Regions from separate parts of the Homo sapiens genome. Here region 2 is linked to region 1. Evidence: promoter capture Hi-C in 16 types of primary human blood cells and fetal thymus (Javierre and others, 2016). All regions are on one chromosome and are shown on one strand. Each heading gives the region's core, a stretch centred on a gene start or on the middle of the fragment in contact. The rest is flanking DNA. Distances are from core to core; before and after follow the strand shown. Region 1 holds the start of TRAPPC2 (trafficking protein particle complex subunit 2). Region 2 holds the start of AP1S2 (adaptor related protein complex 1 subunit sigma 2).

Region 1 (3,565 bases), core at 748-3,247:
AGACTTATTCCAAACCGTTCCATAGGCCAAGCCCAGGGCTGCTCATTTGAAGTCACTGGGAAACTAGAAACTAAGGGGTGGGTGGAACACCAACAGTGCCAGAGTGGGAGGATGCTCAGTGAACTTGGAAGTCTCTTAAGTTGTAGACAAATGCAAGATAAAACTCATGGACTCCAGTTCCAAAGACATCCATTTTTGTAGCATGCCTCTTTACAACCTCTATAGAAGAGCTTCTAGAAAAACTGCCCTGTGCTCGCGAGAGCAGTGATTTCAGTTGTTCCATAAACCTGGGGTCATGAGACTAAACTGGTATGGCATGGGACATGTCTATTACAATGAGGAGGGGCAGTAGGAATACTACTGATAGGTCTTTAATGTGACATTTTTCTATTAATATTATAAGCAATTCTCCCTCCCCTAGAAGTTATGCTAGTTTTTGGAGAACATTTTATCTAATTATATTCATGTATTCAACTGTGGGACCAAAGGTGGAGGTGGGAGTAAGGGGGTCTTCAGGAACATTTTTTTTTTTTAAACAGTGGACAAGTGATTCTACTTAACAACATTTACAACATATCAACATCTTTTTAGAACACTGTTTTCATCATTCCACTCAAAAGCCTTTGATGCATCTCAGCTACAGGATCATGTACTAGTATTCAAGATTCCCACATTGCTCCACGTGTCTTTTCTCAGCCCTATTGTTCCACCTCTGCTAGCGTTGACTCGTTTACTTATTTTTTCTCCCAAATTCACTTTGACTATATCGAGTTCAGAGCTACTATCATTTCTCTCTTCATGCCTGGAATGTTCTCCTTTATTCTGTCTGCAACCACTACCCATCCTTTAAAATCCAACTAAGCCTCTCCTCCTTTTCCATTGTTTCCAACAAAAACTTACAGGTTCTCCACCTCCTATGAAGTCCTGTCACTCTTACTGCCTCTTAAATACTTTAAGTTTTTCACAGCCAGAGATCAAAACTCATCGTACTCATCTTCAATGCTGTACACAAAGCTGACATCCAATTCTGTCCTCACAGGACTTAGATACCATATAAGGCTTATATTCCCAGCACACAACTCTGGAGTCAGGCTAGATTCCTCACTGCTCCCAAGAAGGTCGTGGCTTTTTTTTTTCTTTTAATGATTCCTTTGCTCATTTTTCCCCTTCCTGTGATGTTCTCCTTTTTGCTCACCACCCGAATCCTACCCATCAAGGCCCCGATAAAGACACACTTTTTCCACAGAGATGATCTGGATCACTTCCATCTTCAACCACCTCCCCTTTAAACTCTTTATCCAGTCTACAATGTATCTTAGTTCTTGTTCAATTCTCTGGCTGTAACATTTTCATTATCGCTTCTGAGAGGTTTGGTTCCTTTCCTTTCTAATTACATTTAAGCATCATGAGGACTGGCTCACCTTTACCTCACAGCACACAATGGTTGGTACTCTAAAACGTTTAGCTCTGTGGATCTCAACCCGGAGCGATCTTGCTTCCAAGAGGACATCTGGCAATATCTGGAGACATCTTTGGTTGTCACACTTGGGGGAGAAGGTGATACTGACAAAATAGAGAGCAAGGATACAGCTAAACCTACAATGCACAGGACAGCCTCCCAAAACAAAGAATCTTCCGGCTCCAAAAGGCAACAGTGCAGCCGTTAAGAAACCCTGGGTTAGCTGAATGACCCAGTGAACCGCGAAACCACAGCCCCCGAGAGGGCGGACGTCTGCAGGTGGAAGGGCTGCGCGGATGAGCCAGCGGAGGGCTGGCAGGTCCGGCCCGGCCACCCCGGGGAGGGGTGGAGGTACAGGACCAACATCCGCGTCACGCAGGGGCTACGAAGTCCTCCAGGGACTCAAAACACCCGCCCCCCGCCGCACTTGCTCCATTCCCTACCTGCAGTGGGAGGCCGACAACGGAAACGCAATGTCAGTTTCCGCGGAAGAGACCCGCGCCCCGAACCTGTAGCCAGAACGCCGAAGCAGTTCTCGCGATACCCTGGGATGTGCTCTCGCGATACGTAGGCGGAGCTTCCGGCCGGTGCTGGGCAACCAAGCTCATGCGCCGTAGCTCTTCAGCTCGGGAAGGCTATATTTAGCAGGTTTCCGGAAGTTGCCGGACTGGCTGTGAGGCGGTCCTGCCTCGCTGCCTTCAGTCCCTAGTGTCTGGGTCCCCGCCCTCCAGCCGCCTTTGAGTCGTGCCTGGGTCCTCGCCCTTGCCTCAGAACCGCGAAGAAAGGAAGCTCGCGTGTTTGCTAGAAAACCTAGTTGGGAGTGCGAGGCAGAGAACGTTCAGCACCTTTGTTCCTCCCGAACCCTCGGGACAGAGGCAGGGTTCTGAGGGCAGGGATTCCCCCTCGTCTTGGCCCCACCGCCCGGGCTGGGCACTAAACTCGGGCCGCGGCGGGGCGAGCGAGGCGGGCTCCGGAGGGAGCTGACGCCTGATGATGGCGCAGGTAGACACACCTGCCCCTTCTCGGGCGGAAATAAAGTCTTGTTTTGTGTTCGTTAAACTTTCGCCGCTAGGCCTCTTATGGCTTCCCCGGAGGCCACTGGTCTGTTTTCAGACGTTCACGTTCCCTCTGCCCCGCAGGTAACCTATAACCATTTTGTCTTTTAGTCCAACATGTTTACCGTGGCTGATGTGTTGAGTCAAGATGAACTGCGCAAAAAGCTATACCAGACGTTTAAGGATCGGGGTATACTGGATACACTCAAGGTATCGGATTTAGGCGTATCTGTGTCAGCTTTTACAAGTGTAACCTGTAACAGGTAGTTCAAATTCAATCAAGGTTTAGGTTTTAATAATCGTATGATACATAGATTGTATTGGTGAATTACATTTTTATATTCCCGAATAACTCTGTATCCTGAAACATTACAGTCTCTTGAAAATGTTTGAGAAAATGTTGAGTTTGAGTCGTCTTAAAGGAGCATATTCAAATAATTAATTGAACTGACAATAAGATAGGAGAAGGAAATATTTGTATAATGAACACAGTAAGATTAGGCTTGTTTTATAAATATGGCTTATAGGTTCCTAAATTAATAAGTGGGTTTGTAATACATTTGGATGAAGGACATTGACACCATATAGAAAATACTAGTGTACTGCTTAATAATAGTTTGGGAAATGAAAAATTTTATCTTTAAACTATATTGAAATGTATGAATGTTTAGTTTGGGCAGAAAATACCTATTAGTATGCTTTATATTTGGATTAACAGCCAGGAGTAGGATTAGCTCAACGTGTTTTCATTGAAATATGCATTTCAAAAGCATATTTTACGTTTAAAATATGTAGCTATATCCTGTGTATGTATCCTTTTTTAATTTAAATTATATGGTGAGCATTTCCCTGTTTCCTTAAAAGTTTTTTGAAATCTTCATTTTCAGTGGCAACAGGCTTATCTTTGGATATTTTTGTAATGTATATAGCAGTCCCCTGTTGTTGAATATTTTGGTTATATTCTCCAACAGTCCACAGAGGTGTGATGAAGTGGCAGAATTTTTTCCTATACTTAATATCCCAATCGTAAGCTGCTGAAATGGGCTTCTAG
Region 2 (3,565 bases), core at 377-2,876, 2.1 Mb after region 1:
AAAAGAAAACAAACGTTTAAAAGGCCACAATAAGATTTACACTTATTAAATAAGATTCAGCATTGAAACATTACATGAAATACTTCATTTAAAATAAAAAATAGTATCTACAGATGGAATGGATGCTGAATTCTAGTGTGTTTTATACTTAAACTAATTTGTATGTATTTATTTGTGATCTGCAAATGTGTTGATTAGTCTGCATGTTTCATTTTTAACGCCAAGCTTTTTGTAATCCAATTGGTCATCTCAACTGCAAACAGAAGTATTGTTTCTACAAAGGTAATTTAAAGGCAGAATTCACATAGGTATCCTTTTTTCTTTTAATCACTGTTAAGTTCCTTTAACAGCGTTACTGCAAATAAGATTCAAGCATGATTCTCAAGATTCACCACACCATCTTGAATTTGAACACGGGGAGGGGAAATTTACAGAACCAATGTAGAATAAAAATGGGCCCTAAATTTCGGTAAGAAATTATCGTCGCTTTTTGTAACCACCCAAAAAGGTATCAACAAGATATCTAGAAATGTATGACGTGGCAATTCAACTTTAGTAAAGTTAAAATGGTCTTATTACCTCACTTAAAATGCGTCAGGGGAACAAAATATAAGGACATTATTAGGTGATACCAAAGTGCCTCCCGTGCAAGTCCTGAAGATAGCGGCATTCGAAGGGGGCAGGAAGTGAAGCATCAACTGGGCATTTACTGCAAACCCGTTACCAGAACTTGGAAAAGAATGGACCTCGTATTCCTAGATCTTGGTGACCAGAAAGGGTGAGGGTTTGCCTGCGAAGAGTATGGGCTCAAGGCTGTCTGGAGCAGGGTCCTGTATCCGCCCTACCACTTTGCAGGACGAAAAAACAATGTATTCTCCTTAAAATAAATTATGTCCTAACATGGGACGAAACCCGGTTGCAAAGCACGAGTATTCCTTCCCTCGTGTTAAAAACCAACGCTTTGATTTTGCCGCAAATCACAGGGCACCACAATTCCTCGAGACTGGCATTAAAAACAATGGGCTCAGCCGCGGCGCGGGCTCGGGGCCAGCGTTCCTCGGGTCCGGCCGTCGCCGGTGCCTCCCCCCCACTCCCGTGGCCACACTCCATCACTGACCAAGCCCGGGAGAGGTGACAGGCAAGGAGCGGAGCAGACAATGGCATCCGCCGCCGCGCAGGGGGCGCCAAGAGTCCTCGGCCGCCACCGCCCCCGGCCCCTCCCGAAAGCGCCCCGCAAAACTTGAGGCGATTCCCGAACCACAGGTGCCGCGAGGCTGTCGCGGAGCCCGGGACTGGCCCCCACATCCCCGGGCGCGGCGCGGAGTGGTGCGGAGGGCGCGGACACGGAGAGAAGTGAGTTGCGGGCGCGGCGACCCAGTGGCGGGCCGGGCAGGCTCGGGGTGGGGTCGTCGGGGCGCGCGCGGGGTGGCGGGGGGCGCGCCCAGTCCTCCCTCCCCCTCTCCCCCATCCCCGGCGCCCCCTTTCGCCCCCAGGGACTTACGGCGGCCGCGGGCCGCGGGCGCGGCGGAGCTTGGCCGGCGGCGGCGGCGGCGGCGAAGGGGAAGCCCCTGTCGCCGTGCTGAGGAAGAGAAGCCGTGGTGCTGTGGGGAGGACACCCGGCTGGCATAGGGCAGGCTTAGGCGGAGAGGGGAGGGCAAGCTGACAGACCCCGCCCCGGGGGCCGGACGAGGGAGGAGCCGGGGCTGCGGCGAGCTGAGGGGCGGGCTAGGCGACGCGCGGGAAGCGGCTCAGCGGTCGCCAGCGGCACCGGAGGCAGCGCGGGTAACCGCTGAGTCCAAGGCAGCCGATTGGAGGTTTCTTCGCTGAGGGGAGGTGCGAACCGGAAGCCGGGCCACGTGACCCGGAAGCGGCGTTTGCCGGGCCCGAGCGCCCGCGCGCCCGCGCGCTCTTGCAGGTGCCTCCGGGACGCGCGCGGGCGGCTGTCCTGCTTGTTTAATGATAGGAGGACGGGATTCTGCAGCGTCCTTAGCCTAGCGGGTGGTGCGGGGCAGGGAAGTTCCGGACAGCGAAGAGCCACGTTCGAGCTCTAATGATTCTCTGTGTCCCCAGAGAGGAAGTGTGAAGTGTGACGGCTGACGAGGAGGGTGGGAGGAGACGAGGGAGTGCTGCAACTCTGGAAAAACAAGTCAGCTCTTCTGTGGAGCTCGTCACGCATTCACGGGCCTTTTGCTATCATTCTGCCTCAAAATTGTCCGGAATCCGCCCTCTCCTTCCCATTGCACTGCTCCAGCCCTAGCCCAGACACCTTCCGCCCCGAGCTTCGCGGGAGTCTGTTCCCTGGGCTCGCCTCGCCCATCCTCGGTGCTGCGGACTGGATGAGTTACCGTCCGTTCGGCTGAAAAGCCCGGACAGCACCTCACCTTCGAGATCCCGCTTCCTTCACACTGGGTCGCCCCACCAGCCGCCTGGGTTCCAGTTTAGCACTGCCGACGACTTGCTGTGCCTGGCATGTCCTTGCTCCCAAATGTCACATCTATGAAGCCTCACCCTAAAACCCTGTAAGAGCGATTCCCTCTTTCACCCACATGCCCGTTAGCCTTTATTTAGCACACCTTAAATTGTATTCATTTTGCATCTCAATCTAGTTCACAGCCTGGTATATAACAACTAATAAATGTGAGTTGACTGATAAAGACTATAAAATGATAAATTTGTTAAGAGCTGTAATGCTGAGCGTAATGCCTGGGCATAATGGATGTTCATAATTTTCTGAATGATAGAATGGATGAATCATCTAGTCATTTACAGATAAGGAAAGGGGAGTCCCACGGGATTAGGTGACCTTCCTTGAAGAGCCACGGGTTTCCCATATCGAAATGCTATTCATTACCCGAGTCACCTAGGTTCTTACAAAGGAAGCGAGAAAATTGCTTTTGTTGGGCCATGCCCCTTTTGCAGAGGTTCCTAAGTATAGTCGCCAGAATTTTTTTAATGGCCTAAAGTAAAAAAAGAAATGCTAAAATTTTCACGAAGCTAAATGTAATCAATGTAAAGGAATCCTTTATTAGGGATTATATTCTTTTTGTGTACATTATAGTATCTATGAAACTAAGACAGTAGTTTTGGGGGCTTTTAAAAAATGCTTTTGTATGACAAAACAAAAAGAAATGTGTAATACTTCCCCTTTTCAAGCACTACTGTGCTGCTTGGAAAGTTTCCTACTAACATGTATGATTAATGTATACTGGAATATTAAAGAAAGGGGACGACACACGGCACAGAGCTGGCTTTCTGTAGTTCTTTAGGTCCCCCTCGCCCCCACCAGATTTCTCCCTACCTAGTCATGCCCCAAAGGTGCTTTCGAATGTCCCATTTCTCTCTTACTACAAGAAACAGATGCCATTAACCAGTTAAAAGATAGCTCTAATGCTACACAATGAAAACTCGCCCTCTGAATCCAAATGCTGCTTTTCTCTTTTTCTGTACAAAACACTTATATCCTGAAGGTTCCTGAGATAGCCACTTCCAAGTTTAAACTCTGATTATGCTCCTAATGTTGCTCTGAAAATGAGGACGGGAGACTTGCTGATGACATACTGGCAGT

What was found. The method cuts DNA at HindIII sites, captures the fragments that hold promoters and counts their contacts. A CHiCAGO score of 5 or more calls a contact.
Region 2: the fragment with the promoter of AP1S2 here is called in contact with the fragment with the promoter of TRAPPC2 in region 1 in 1 of 17 cell types (non-activated CD4 T cells); the score reaches 5.5 in non-activated CD4 T cells.

Annotation. Positions count from the first base shown.
Region 1 is chrX:13,732,623-13,736,187 of GRCh38, forward strand. TRAPPC2 (trafficking protein particle complex subunit 2) reads right to left here and starts at 1,998. Exons shown (of 6, transcript NM_001011658.4): 1 at 1,903-1,998; 2 at 1,422-1,563. OFD1 (OFD1 centriole and centriolar satellite protein) reads left to right here and starts at 2,126. Exons shown (of 23, transcript NM_003611.3): 1 at 2,126-2,461; 2 at 2,626-2,724. The coding sequence starts at 2,450. RefSeq lists enhancers at 1,500-2,699, 2,468-3,039. The HindIII fragment of the contact is 7,868 bases long and covers 1-3,565 here.
Region 2 is chrX:15,853,187-15,856,751 of GRCh38, forward strand. It overlaps AP1S2 (adaptor related protein complex 1 subunit sigma 2), which reads right to left and starts at 1,627. Exons shown (of 6, transcript NM_001272071.2): 1 at 1,502-1,627. RefSeq lists silencers at 1,054-1,343, 1,564-1,843, 1,934-2,043 and an enhancer at 1,661-2,265. The HindIII fragment of the contact is 8,276 bases long and covers 224-3,565 here.